3 separate regions of the Homo sapiens genome follow, and regions 2 and 3 are each linked to region 1. Evidence: promoter capture Hi-C in 16 types of primary human blood cells and fetal thymus (Javierre and others, 2016). All regions are on one chromosome and are shown on one strand. Each heading gives the region's core, a stretch centred on a gene start or on the middle of the fragment in contact. The rest is flanking DNA. Distances are from core to core; before and after follow the strand shown.

Region 1 (4,469 bases), core at 719-3,218:
TAGGAGTCTGTGCAAAGATCTTATTTTCACTTTTGGCAGAAATGTAGTCATTTCAAACAATACATCTTAGTCTGCCAGGATCTTCCAAGTGGTCCCAGGCCTACCTTGTCTGCTATCATTTTTAATAAAAGACGTACTTTTCGGCCTAGTATCAATCAGATCTCATGTTTTTAAATCACTTTATGGCTGTTACATTCAAAGCATTCTCCATTAATTTAAGGGAAGTTTTTGGAGGTGTCTGCCTGTAAGTCAACAAGTAATGCAATACTGGGCAATCCAGGGTGCATATTTTACTGTCAGCGTGCTCCCCACAGATGGGAAAGGCCTGATACCCACTAACTGAGCAAAGAACAGACTCTTCAGAGTGACTAGTGGTGCAAAAAAGAATCCTGGGTTCTCTAGCGTGAAAAAGTCAAGGTAAAAAACATGGTAACACAAGTAAGGGAACTGGGACGGACGCCTTTTTTAAAAATCAAAAGGTCATCTTTTATGCCGCAGAGCAAACTTATGACCTTATGAGGAGAAAAGAAAATCAAAATACTTGGGAGGTGGGGATGAACATCGGGTTAGTTTGCATTCTTGCTTTTATTTTAACAGCATCACACGTATTCCCCCCCGGAACACTGAAGAGCGCATAGGGCAGATAGGTAGATGGGGCTGTGTCAACACCTCAGTCACAGCCCACAGACCCTCTGTGCCTCAGTTTCCCTCATTATACAAAGCTCCTGGGAGAAAATGGGCCCAAACCGCCATTGCTGCTCCCTCAGGTGCAAACATCCCGTCTCCAACATAGCCCAGGGCTGGGGGGTCCTCTGCGCCCGGTGAACGAAACCCCAGGACAAGGGCCATGCATGCAACTCCGTGGCTAGAGAGCCCGTGGCGCGGGTAGGAACAGCTGGCTGGAGGGTCGAGTGTACCAAAAAGAACTCCGCAACCCGGGGCGACCACCAGCGAAGCAGGGGCGCCGGAGCCACGGGTCCTCGGGCGAGAACAGGGGACAGACGGGAAGGGGACAATGGGGGGAAGCGGCGCTGGGTGGCCTTGGCCACCCCCCACAGGGGACTGCTAGGCTGGCCGCTGGCTCGGACCAGACCCCCCTCCACCCCTTCCCCTCGGTCCCCCCACCCCGCTGCCAGCCACCCCCCCGTCCCACTTCTAGGCCGGGACCCCCGCCTCGGTTCTCACAGCACCCTCCACGCCCCCCACCCGACCCCCATGCCCGGCCCTCGCCCCGCAACCCCCACCCACGCTCGCCCCGCACACACCTCCCGCGCCGCGCCCCCGGGAGGAAAGTGGGGGAGGGACGGGACGCACCTGAGCGGGCGGAGCGGGGGGAGGGGGCGGCCGAGCCACGGGGGGAGGGGTCGAGCGCCGGCCCGCGCGCGGCACCTCCCACTTCCGGCGGCACGAGCGGAGGGGGCGAGGCTCCGGCCGCGAGAGGAGAGGCCGCGGTGGCGCCGCGCCGCCCCCGACGGCGCCCTCTGGCGGCGACAGCTGGCGCCGCCGGGGCACGGGGATGCTGCGGGAGACCCCTGAGATACAAGTGGACTCTCCCGGGGCGCGGGGAAGAAGGGAGAGCCGACTGCGAGAAGGAAGGCGACCTGGGTGGGCAGGATCCCCTCTGGGAAGATTACAGGGACAGTCGGGGCCATGGCGGTCAGAAGGAGAAGAGCAACGAGTGGCTTTTAAAGGTCGGAACCGAAATGCCCTTTACAGAGGACGCCATGAAGGAGAGCCTTCTGAAGAGGGACCATGTGGAAGATGCCCCGAGGACTCGGGGAGGCGGAGCCCGCGGGTTCAGCCCCCAGCGCCCGCACGGCCCCTGCCTGCGTAGGCCGCCCGCGGGAGCCGGACCCCGGGCGCCGGTTGCTGTGGCCCGCGGGGGTCGCCGGGCCGCAGGCGCCGCGCTGATTGGCTGCGCCGCGGGCGGAAGTGATGCTGCTGTCACTGCTCCTCCGGCTCCCGGGAAGCCGCGAGTTTCCGCAGGGAGGCGGCGGCAGCTGCGGCGGGGCCGGTGAGTTGGGAACTAGGTGTGGGGCTGGACCTGGGTGGTCAGGGGGCCCCAGAAGTGGGGGAAGCCGGCGTCTGAGGATGAGGGAGCTGCACAGAGGGTGCCTGAGGTCCTGGCGTGGGGGACCAAGGAGATGGGGCCCCAGGGCCCAGAATTCCTGGATAATGTGGGTGCTAATGAGGAGAGGGGCACATTGCACGGAGCGATCGAGGCCGACGGAGGGAGAATCGGGAAACTGACCCGGTACCCAAGCTGGCTTCTAGGAGCCGGGTGTGGAACAGCGAGGACAGTAGCTTGGGAGCAGGATCTTGGACTCCAGGCTGCCCATTCTCTTCTTCCTTGTCAATTAAGAGCTGTAAAGGGAGGCCTAGCCGTTGGGAGAGGTTGAGACCTGCTTTCAGAAGGCATTTAAGGTTCCTTTCCCAGAAGCCTGGGGGATAAAAATGCTGCTTTGCCACTAGTAGACAGAAGGAGCTCCTGCTTCTCTTTCTTCCTGACATCTGTGGTGGGATCTACTGAGTCTGAAGGAGTCTGCCTAGCGGGGCCACTGTCTGGCTAACAAGGGTTTTGTTTGTTAGTTTGTTTACTTAGTAGAGTATGCAGACTGGGGAAGACACCTAAATATCTTGGGAGAATTGAGGCTCCCGGGGGCAGGGAGGGATTGAGAGGGAATATGCCTGGAAACCTAAGAGAAAACGAGAGGAAGAAATGTAGTATGAAGATTTTTAGAGGTAAAGGAGAGGTGGCATAAGTTCTCCTTTCCAGGAAGCCTTTCAGTAAAATTCCCATTTTTCTGGAATGCTTTGAGGTAGAGCCGCTTGGGTGTGTATCTGAGTACTAAGCCCTGCCCCAGGGTGGACCCAGTGGAGAGCAAAGGCTTTTAAAGGAGCCCAGCCACCATAGGTACACACATGTCCTGCCACCCCATTTGTCTGTCCCCCAGTTCTAACTTGGCTCTTTTTTTTTTTTTTTGAGGGCTCCTGAGACCAATTCCCTGGTTCTGTCAAACCCAGGCAATTGGAGTCCCAGTCTGGAGTCTGAGTCCTCACCTTGAAGCCAGCCTCCTGAGCTCAGTACAGGAGTAGCTGCTTAGTGAGGTTCTCTCATCATTCGTTCTCTCCTGGTTGCCCGCTTGTCCTTGGTGCCTGTTCTGTTTTGTTTGCACTCTCTGGCTTTCCCCGTTTCGCCCCCGCCGCCTCCCTCCTTTCACTTTCCCTGGTATCCTTCTGGGATATACAAATCAAGAAGTTAGCTACCACCTGGACTTCTAGGACGTTATTACCTACTCTTTCAAGAGGCATTTTGGTAACTGTTTTTTGCTAGGCCTCTGGGGAACAAAATGAAAAGAGGGTGGCACGATAGCACAGGAAGTGGGTTTTTTGGGTGTTATACTGATTTGGCCTCACCGTACCAGTTCTGCTCCAGTCTATGACCGATTTTAGATCTTTGGAAATGACAATTAATGAAGTTTCTTTGGTCCCTGGTCCTGGAGTTTATCTAACCTCAGCTTGTTGCCCTGGGATTGGTGGGACATTATTTCTTCTGTTCTTGGATCCCACAGGTCTGTAGCCTTTGCTGAGTCAACACTACTCACAGTGAAAGTGATGCCTTTTCTCCATTTGCACAACATGAGTGTGACGTGGTTAGCCAGACCAGGAGCTCAACCTCATGTAGAATCCAGGTGGGCACGGGGCCCTGTTATGGGGAATTAGCCTTGAGGACAACTGGACTGAGGAGTCAGCTAGGGAAAGATTTATGTCCCCTCTAAATGTAGGGGTGAAGGGGTTGTCTCTGCTAAAGAACAGTCACGATGCAGCCAGTAGTTTGTGGAAGCGATGTGTGCTTTGAGCCCTGTGGGTGGCAACAGGGGTTGCTCGCAGTGCCTGTGAGCAACTGGACCTCCTGCTGGATTAGCTGGTGTCGTGAGGATTGGCTGTCTTGCTGTGGGAGGCCATCCGCTGGTGTTAGTGCTGGCCCACACTCCACCTGGGGGCTTATCCCTGTTGGTCAGGGATAAATGTGAACAAAAAGAGAAGATCAAATGTTTCACAATTTAAAAGGCATGGCTTAGGGACTTCCAGGGGGAACACATGGATGGCTCAGCATCTCCCTCTCAGATTCCTGCAGTTACCAGCTCTTTGATCTCTTCCATATCCTTTTTCTTTGTCTGCAGTCCACTGCTCTGATGCCGAAGGGGAGGCAGAAAGTGCCACACTTGGATGCCCCCCTGGGCCTGCCCACCTGCCTCTGGCTGGAATTAGCCGGGCTCTTCTTACTGGTTCCCTGGGTCATGGGCCTGGCAGGGACAGGTGGGCCTGATGGCCAGGGCACAGGGGGGCCGAGCTGGGCTGTGCACCTGGAAAGCCTGGAAGGTGACGGGGAGGAAGAGACTCTGGAGCAGCAGGCGGATGCCTTGGCCCAGGCAGCAGGGCTGGTGAATGCTGGACGCATCGGAGAG
Region 2 (4,469 bases), core at 573-3,072, 300 kb after region 1:
AATGATAGAACTGAGTGGCAAAGCAAAGAACTACTAGCTGTGGTTAGTTTGGAATTGGCAGAAGTTTTTTCAGGTAGTCACCTAAGATGAAGATGAGCACACATACTGCCTTTTCCCTTTTCTAGGCTGGGTTCATTCTTCACTGAAATGTGGTATTTCTGCCTATTGCTTGTCCTGCTGTCAGGGTATGTTCATTTTCAGCTAGTGTTTTGCATCAACTATGAGTTGTAGACTTAGCAGACAAATGGAGACACTGTCTGTTTAGAGTGGAAAAGTGACTTATTTTAAGAAATGTTGGCTCCGCACCACTATCCCATTAGTGGCATACCTCTGACACTCCATTGAAGCTGGCCTAGGGAAGGTAAGACTGGCTTCTGTGTATTTTTGCTCTTTGAAAGGTCAGAACCTAAATGTACCACAAGATATTTTCTTCCTGAGTAAGATTGGGACAAAATTACAAACAGTGAATTCTGAAGCAAACTTACGTGCTGGTGCTCTAATACTTTAGAAAATTCAAAATCGATTTCCTGTACTTCTAACAATATTACTCTTCGTCGGGTATGTAAATCTCTTAGTGTCACTTACTTCTTTTCATTTTGCAAGGAAGGGCAGACCAAAAAGATTAAAGAAGACCAATGCCAAGTCATGGTCATGGGAAAGTGAGAAAGAGAATTTAAAAGTACTTTTTACTTTTTTTTACTTTGTTTTACTTTTTACTTTTGAAAAGCACTTGAAACAGGAGAACCATTTTTTTTCCTTTTAACCGAGAGTCACCTCATCCCTGTCTGGGTACATGTTTGGAGTGAAATTGTGGTCAAAGAAAACTTTAAATTTGTCCCAGACCTATAATGGCAACTAAATAGATAAGTAGTTGATTGATGGTGAAAAAAGCTTAGTGTGATGGACTTGACTTTATGCAGCAGGTGTCTACTTGAGGTTTGTTTAGATTGGTGGGGGTGGGGAGGGGGCAGGACTCTAGCTAGGGGCATGGCTGCAGTGTGGATGATTGGGATGAGGATATGGGTAGTATTTGTGTCTCAGTATTTAGGAGAGGTAGTTCACTGAATTGCCTGGAAGAAGCAGAACAACTCTGGAGTTCCTTGCAATTGGAGTTTATCCTGACAAGGTTCAACGTACATTTTACTTTGCGTATTGAGTGGATTCAGGAGCCATTTGGTTTCATTTGCCTTCTGAAAGTACTGCAGTATTTGTAAAAATGCTGTGACTATGTGTTAAGTCCAGGCTGGTCTACAGCTCTGGATTTCTTCACTGAAAGTTAAATATCACATTTGAACTTGAAGAATGTTTGCTGCCTGCCTCTAGAGCATATACGAATATAAAGCAGCTATTTGTCAGCAGGCAGCTGAAAGGCGATTTTCAGCAGGGAGTGAAAACCACTGCAGGCTGCTGGCTTCCTGGCACACCCACTAGACCTCGTAGGTTTACAGTGAAAGCAAACCAATGGGAGTAGGGGTTGGGGGGATAAGATGGGCAAAAATCAGGGCAGAGGCTGAGGTCTGAATGCGATTGAGCCACTGGAAGGAGCTTGCATGTGAAGAGCACAGTGCTCCCAAAGAGAAGAAAACTTGAACCCTAAACACAATGGCTAGGAGCAAATATCTAATGTGAACACTTTAAAAAAAAAAAGTGATTTGTTCCGTAAGTGTATTTAGAGTCCAGGGGAAAAAAAAAAGTGATTTGTTTATCTTCTTTGTATCTATAACTATAGGGGTACTGAAGGTAACTTTGGGGAAAGTATTATAGTTTAAGCTGTACTACCCAGTGCGCTGTTACAGCTACCTTTTAACCAGAACCATTAACAGTGACAATCGATGTGTAGAAAATCACCTTTAAGCTCTGCAGAATCCTGAAGGACTTTGTGCTCTATTGACTAGATGTTTAAGTATTCCCTATATAGTATTCAGTGGACCTTTTCAAAAATGTCTTTTGCAACATCTTTGAAAGTGAAAGTTTTAACGTATGATACTCTTAATCAGAGTACACGTTTATTCCCAAATATTCTGTTCTTTCTTTGGGTATAGCATGCAACAGAGTTTACTTGTATTTAGAAGATCAAGAGGTGGGGGTATTGGCAGGATAAATGATTTGTCCAGGGACAACTGATGTGTCACTGTAGAGATAAAACAGAACTAGGCTGCATTCCAGCAGCTTCTGGCCCGTATAACAGTTTTGAGAACTTTCCAATCACTTTAGGAAAACAAGGTACTTAGAAATTTATAAAGACTTTCTTAATAAAAGAAATCACTTATTTTGGAAATTGTGAAATTAATCATTCTGCAGCATTTAAGAAGCACTTTGATGTGTTCTGGTAATTAGTATTTACTGCCAGACAAATGTCTCTTGGGCATTTTAATTAATGGGTAGCTTGGCCAAATGAGCTTCTGATGGTAAACCTTCATAAGGGTTTATTTTTATGTTTCTCAAGAATAGCTGTCTCTTCAAAGCTCTTTAATTAGACAAGGTTTAGCAACTAAAACATATTATTAGAATAATTAGGCCTTGGGTTAAGAGAAATAGGGGGTCAGAGGAGCAGGTACTGTTAGAAAATGGCCTCTTAAAACATAGCATTCTACCTCTGATGGATGGCCAGTTCTTTCACAGCTTCTGTTAAGTTACTCTCCCTAGTTTGGACTTCGTGTTGTTTAAAGTTCATAGCAGACCTCACCGGAAGCCTAAACACACCCGAGTGGGAGCTTACTTATCCCCACCTCTGACCTCCCAGGGAAAGCTTGATTCTAGTCCTTTTAACTGCTAAGTGGAAGACTTCTTATTTTCTCCTTTTTCTTCTATTAAATCGATAATCTTGGCTATAACAATGACTTGTATTTTTGAGGGAGATGCTTCAAAAGCCTTGTGTGTGGCGAACAAAAATTACAATAATTCCTTTGAGGATCTTTCTTAATGATTTATATTATCTACATATAAGATATGTTCTTAAAGTGACTACAGTATTTGCATTCCAGAATGTTATATTTCTTGTGGTCAGAATGCAGTTTGAATTATTTTGCAATCTGCTCTGTAGATGGGCTGGCATCTAACTCCCCTTCTTCAACCTTCTCCCCTACCATTTCTTGCCACAAGCGCTCAGTCTTGGCAGTTATTGCTAGTAAATATGTGCTACCCTGAACTTCCTCTTTGTGGTGAAGGAAAGATACACCTGACTGGTCCTGTGAGGGAGTGAGATGTCACCAAAACAATTGTGTATTCTACCAAAACTGTTGATAAATCACAATATATTTATCTATATTCCCTCATTTTTCACTTTCCTACTGTCTCAGGATGCTTAGGATGGCAAATATGTCCTTTTCCCAGCTAGATCAGTTGATTAAAGGACAGTGCTCATGAGACTATTAGACATTTCTAACAGAACAACTGTATCATAGCTGACATTTCTAATCCCACTAGCTGTCATGACCTATATGTGTTGTTGGTTTGATAAAGAACTGAGTCAAAGATATGTATGTTGTTGGTTTGGTATAAACCTACTGCTATTATTAGAAAGTTCTTAAAGAACCTGCTAATCCATCAAATCATTTTTGAATATTGAGGATAGCCTGCTTTATAGTATTATGATTTTATCACATGTAAATTCTTTTGATATACCTTAGTTAACAACATGGCCAATGAAATGATTTTATTTGAGTTGGTAGAAACTTCACTTGGTTTTTGATTGATGTTATCTGTAAAAATTATCATTTTGTAAGAACCATTTGGTGAGCCCCATAAATGCAGATATAAAGATGTAGGTATATCGCTATGCACTCCAGAGAACAGTTACCGAGTAAGTGTGTTTTTATGTCAAATCGAAGAACTTTGAGAAAGCAGAAAGATAGTAACCTAAACAGAGTGCTCTGTCGAGGAGTTTTCTCCCCCTAGCAGTGACGAATTTCTGTCCACCCTTTCCTTAAATGATTTAATATTGGGGCCTTGCTTTTTTACCTCCTCTTTAACACAGGAAATATTTCTGATACTTATCTTCATGTGTGTGTTTGCTCATGTCTGTGCAGTCTTCTGCAGTGAGGATATGAAAAGAAAGGTAGTGAGTTCTATGACCCTTGAAAAACACCAGAACTCTCTTTTCCTAATGAAAGTACAAGTGTGTTCTTATGCATACTTTTGTATAACAGGATTTATACTTAAAATAGTTTGGATACTTATTACTAATGAATTTTGATAGATGCAAACCAGGACTATCAATGTGTTGTTCTCTCATTGCTCATTTTGCCTCTTTAACTCACTCGAGAGGGCCCCTTGTAGCCCTCCTTAAGTCTACCTTTTGAAATTACACAAGTGTCCAAAATGAAAACTGACTGTATTCTTCTTCAACACAGACCACCTGGTGGCCCATGGTAGAATGGCAGAAAAGGAGGCACGTCGGAAGTTCAAACAGATCGTCACAGCTGTCTATTTTTGTCACTGTCGGAACATTGTTCATCGTGATTTAAAAG
Region 3 (4,469 bases), core at 1,036-3,535, 270 kb after region 1:
GGGTCCTGTGAAAGCATTATGCCCTATAGAAAAGAAAATTGAGTGACTATTTTCTCAGTTCTCCCAAACATGGTACTATTCTAGATGCATTGAAGAGAAGTCAATTCATTACATACAGTGATGCTTTAAGGGCAGTTGTTCTCAGAGTTTGATTCAGGGATGTCATAGACTCCAATACTGTTTCAGTGGGTCCCCTAGGTCAAAACCATTTTTAAAGAAATGCCACAACATTATTTTCACTTTTCATTCATAGTCTCTCACAATTATAAAATAGAGATTTCCAGAGACTATGCTATGTATGATGCTGCAATTGCTCTGATGACCAAGGAGATGTGTGGTTGTATACACGTGTCTTTTAAATTTTTGTCTTAATTTCTGATTTTTAATTTGATTTCTAAGCAAATATTGAAAGATATTACTCACATAATCAAAACTTCTTTGAAGTTTCTCCTAACTTTTAAGAGAAGGAGTCCTGAGACCAAACAGTTTGGGAACTGCTGTCTTAAGGCTGTAAGACTTAATTCTCTGAGAGAACCCCTCCTGGGAATGGCTGCACACAAGGGCAGTACAGTAAACCAGTCAGTTGCTCAATAGACATTTTAAAAATTGAATTAAATTGAGCTCCTAGAATATAACTTTTGAGACCTTATTTGAGATTTTCTCCCAAGGCAATGTTTGAGCATTGAGAGCCTTGTAACTTGGGCCAGGTTTCTGTGAGATAGACAGTTGGCAATTCTCAATATCAAGTCAATGATTTCAGAAGTCATTTTCAAGGAATACGTCCTTTAACTGGTAGATTAATTATGTAGCCTGTTGGCATTATGTGGATCAGTGCCGTCCAAGAGAAAGAGGGCACATATATTATTTACAATTTTTAAATAATCATATTAAAAAAGTAAAAAGTGGTGAAATTAGTTTTAATATCTTTTGTTTAGCCTAATATATCTAAAATATTATAATTTCCACATGTAATCAATATAAAAATGTATCAGGGAGATAGTTTAATTCTTTTTTATATTACTATCTTTGAAATCTGGTATATATTTTACATTTATAGCGCATCAGTCTGGATAGTTACACGTGGCTGGTGCCTACTGTATTACACTGTACAGATCTAGATCATAAAATAGTTGTAGAGCTGAGCCGAGAATGTTCTAGAGTAGATAAGCTTTGTCATAAAAATAGAGAATAAAAATTTTGCTACAGAAGTTAGTATAAAAACATAACCCCATTGAAAAAAGCTTACAATGACAAAATGTTTGATATCTGCCTAAATTCTAAAGACATTTCTAAAAGAAATAGAGCTCTTTCCTTAAAACAAATTTTTTAAAAAAATAAGCTTTTCTTCAAACTGTAATGTTTTCTCTTTCCTTCTAAAAAGCATGCAGTCTGCTCACTATATTCTTTGAAATTACTGTATGTTCATCTGCATACCAGTGTAAGGAGATCCTCTTTCTCGTCTTGGAAGAATTTGAGCCCTTGTGATCTTTGCATTTCCCTCCTACGTAGTTCTTTCTTGAACTGTCCATTTGTCCTGGCATATCCCTGAATCCGTACTATCTGCTATAGGGCATTTATTTCTGATGGGGAAGGGTGGTTTGTTTTGATCTTAATGCTGAACTGTCCCTTAGTTCATTGTCTTTTACTCTGTTGCCGTATCTTGCTTACAAATATGGTGTCAGAATATGCAAGTGAATTTATTGCCTGTTGTGAAGAAACCACTATTTTTTTCAGCTTCATTCACTATGAACATTATTGTGCTTACAAAAGTGAGTTGAGTTAAAAAGAACTGTGTTTTTTAGAAGTGAGAATTAAAAGGGAGAAATAGTAATTTTTCCTCTCATAGAATGAATAATAAAGAACTATGACTTTAAATTTGGCATGATCTAAATTTAATTTTTTTCCTACCACATGCCAATTGAAACAGAAGAATTTGTTGAATGGGAATGTCTTGAGTAGGGAAATTAAGGACTCTCACAATCTGTTATCTCTTTAGTAGCATACTTGATACAGTGTCATGTTTAATTAATATTAGAATGTCAATTTACAAAATCATGCTCTTTGGAAGATAAAAGAATTCTGTGTAGAACAGGCAAACTTAGGAAATATATGGTCTCTTGGTAACATGTTGGAAGTTTTCTGCTTTGTTATAATTTTCATATGTAAGTACAATTAGGAGATTTATAGATTTTCAACCCCAATATAATAACATTCTTTGAGAGTTTATCTTTTCTTTACCTACTGATTTACCTTTGTTGTGGACACATTCAGTTTTTCAAGCAACTGGTGTGTACTTTACACCAAAACCTTTATTATATAGTCTTCAGTAATCTGTAGCTGTGAAACTCATACTCATTTATCTGTTTAGATATTCTCAAAACAATCATACCTGTGTGCCAGCCACCTGCTGTCTGACTTGGCAGTTTCTCTGTTCCAACTTTATTTTTCTGCTTTTTAGAAAACTCCCACTTTCCAGTTTGCAGCTAAGGTAGGAGCTGAGTTCCTTTCCCTGTTAAGTGGTCTTATCAGGCAGTTATGCCATTGCCAAGCAACAGTAAGTTCTCTCCTCTCAGGTGTTAGCTAGTAGGTAGGGTTGGCAAGGGGAGCCTGGCCTGCTGTGAAGAAGTAGACCAGTGTCTCTCTGCCACAGCCCTCAGGGTCGGGTCTTGCTGTGGGTTCCATCCTATGGCTCACTGTGACTTTCCTGAATGGAATGCGTTTATTTTTTTTCCAGCTCTGTTCTTTCCATGTTCTTCCCACATCAGCTGGCGGCAGCCAGTTGGTTCTGAATGCTGCCCACAAATTGTTAGCTATTTTGCTTCTTGGTCCCTCAATTTGTCCCTTGAATAAGGAATTGATGTGTTTCAGATCCAGGATTATGTTGCTTAGTGAAGCAAATCTAATCCTTGCCAAGGAATGCCTAAAGTTGAAGGCTTGATTCCAGAAGAAAATAAAATAACAACAGCACTACCTGTAATTAACATATATTGCCTGTTTACTGTGCCAGGCATTATATTAATCAGGTTGCATGTATTAGCTTTGTTAATCCCCAAAATCACTTTAAAGTAGGTTCCATTGTTGCCCACATTTTACAGATAGGGAGCCATTGGAAAATTAAGTAACCTGTTCTAGGTTATATATTAAGGGATAGTTCCAAGATTTTGAATCTAAGTAGCTTGTCTTCAGAGTCCTTGCTTTCAGTACTATATTCAACTGCTAAATAAAGCTTCACTTTGGTTTTTTTGTTTTGTTTTGTTTTTTTGTTTTGGAGAAAGTGTCTCATTCTGTTGCACAGATTGCAATGCAGTGGCGTGATCACGGCTCACTTCACCCTTGCTAGGCTCATGCAATCCTTCTGTCTCAGCTTCCTGAGTAACTGGGACTACAGGCACACACTACCACACCTGGCTAATTTTTTTATTTTTTGTAGAGATGAGGTCTCACTTTGTTGCCCAGGCTGGTCTTGAACTCCTCGCCTCAAGCCATCCGCCTGCCTTTAACTCCCAAAGTGCTGGAATTACAGGCGTGAACCACCGTGCCTGGCCCAAAGCTTCACTTTTCAATGTCTTCTGGAATCTGAACTCTCACTGAAGAGTAGACAGGAGTTTGATGTTTTAATCTATTAAAACTTCTTTGTACGTGCCTTCTAAGAACAGATTATATTCAATGCAATTTTTCCTGAAAAGATGAAGTACATTTGTTTGTAAAATTCATGTATGTATGTATTTATTTATTATAGTACATATTTATGGGGTACATTTGATATTTTGCTGCATGGATACAACATGTAATGATCAAATCAGGGTAATTAGGATATCCATTACCCCAAACATTTATCATGTCTTTCTGTTGGTGACATTTCAAATCTCCTTCAGCCATTTTGAAATATGTAATAAATTATTGTTAATTATAGCCAACAAAAGGCATTATTGCTAGTACAGATATTTCTTGACTTATGATGGGTTACGTCCCAATAAACCCATTATAAGTTGAAAATATGGTAAGTCAGAAATGCATTTAATTCACTCTATTGTTATCTACCCACGTGATTGTGTGGCTGACTGGGAGCCACACAATCTCTGTTTACCATTATGAAGATCCTATTGCTTCAGAATGCAAATGAAATTTAGAGTGAGTGCCTTGTGAATCAGGGAGGCCCCACTATATGACTCCCTGTGATCTCTTGGAGGTGAAAGAATGCACAAATTTCATAAGTTAACCTGAAGGTCACCCGCTTTTCCCCAGTTACATTGTACATGCCATCAATTAGTAGGGGGTGGGCAGAGGTGGAAGATTTCAGGCACAGGCCTTAGACAGTTGATGCCCTCTGTTATTAAGGTAAATAAATCCTAGCAGTTCTTCCCACCTTTTGCACATCATGGCATGCACAGAAAGTTGAGATTGGAGGTGATCCATTATTGCTTGTAACCCATTTCCAACACACTTGTTTGGAAGTTCTTTTTTTTTCT

Evidence for each region. Contacts are between HindIII fragments. The CHiCAGO score rates a contact against its expected background, and 5 or more counts as called.
Region 2: a contact is called between a fragment that was not itself captured here and the fragment with the promoter of PCSK7 in region 1, in 3 of 17 cell types (naive CD4 T cells, erythroblasts and M2 macrophages). The highest score is 6.6, in naive CD4 T cells.
Region 3: a fragment that was not itself captured here is called in contact with the fragment with the promoter of PCSK7 in region 1 in 3 of 17 cell types (naive CD4 T cells, M2 macrophages and naive B cells); the score reaches 5.4 in naive CD4 T cells.

The regions. Positions count from the first base shown.
Region 1 is chr11:117,229,572-117,234,040 of GRCh38, reverse strand. PCSK7 (proprotein convertase subtilisin/kexin type 7) reads left to right here and starts at 1,968. Exons shown (of 17, transcript NM_004716.4): 1 at 1,968-2,014; 2 at 3,573-3,692; 3 at 4,185-4,469. The coding sequence starts at 4,197. RNF214 (ring finger protein 214) reads right to left here and starts at 1,370. Exons shown (of 15, transcript NM_207343.4): 1 at 1,315-1,370. RefSeq lists silencers at 1,231-1,570, 1,781-1,930 and enhancers at 2,121-2,170, 3,040-3,279. The HindIII fragment of the contact is 17,537 bases long and covers 1-4,469 here.
Region 2 is chr11:116,927,264-116,931,732 of GRCh38, reverse strand. SIK3 (SIK family kinase 3) reads left to right here. Exons shown (of 25, transcript NM_001366686.3): 4 at 4,353-4,469. Among named protein-coding and RNA genes, the nearest start is that of APOA1, 92 kb to the right of the region's middle. The HindIII fragment of the contact is 1,858 bases long and covers 894-2,751 here.
Region 3 is chr11:116,959,320-116,963,788 of GRCh38, reverse strand. All of the region lies in intron 1 of SIK3 (SIK family kinase 3), which reads left to right. Among named protein-coding and RNA genes, the nearest start is that of APOA1, 120 kb to the right of the region's middle. The HindIII fragment of the contact is 1,887 bases long and covers 1,342-3,228 here.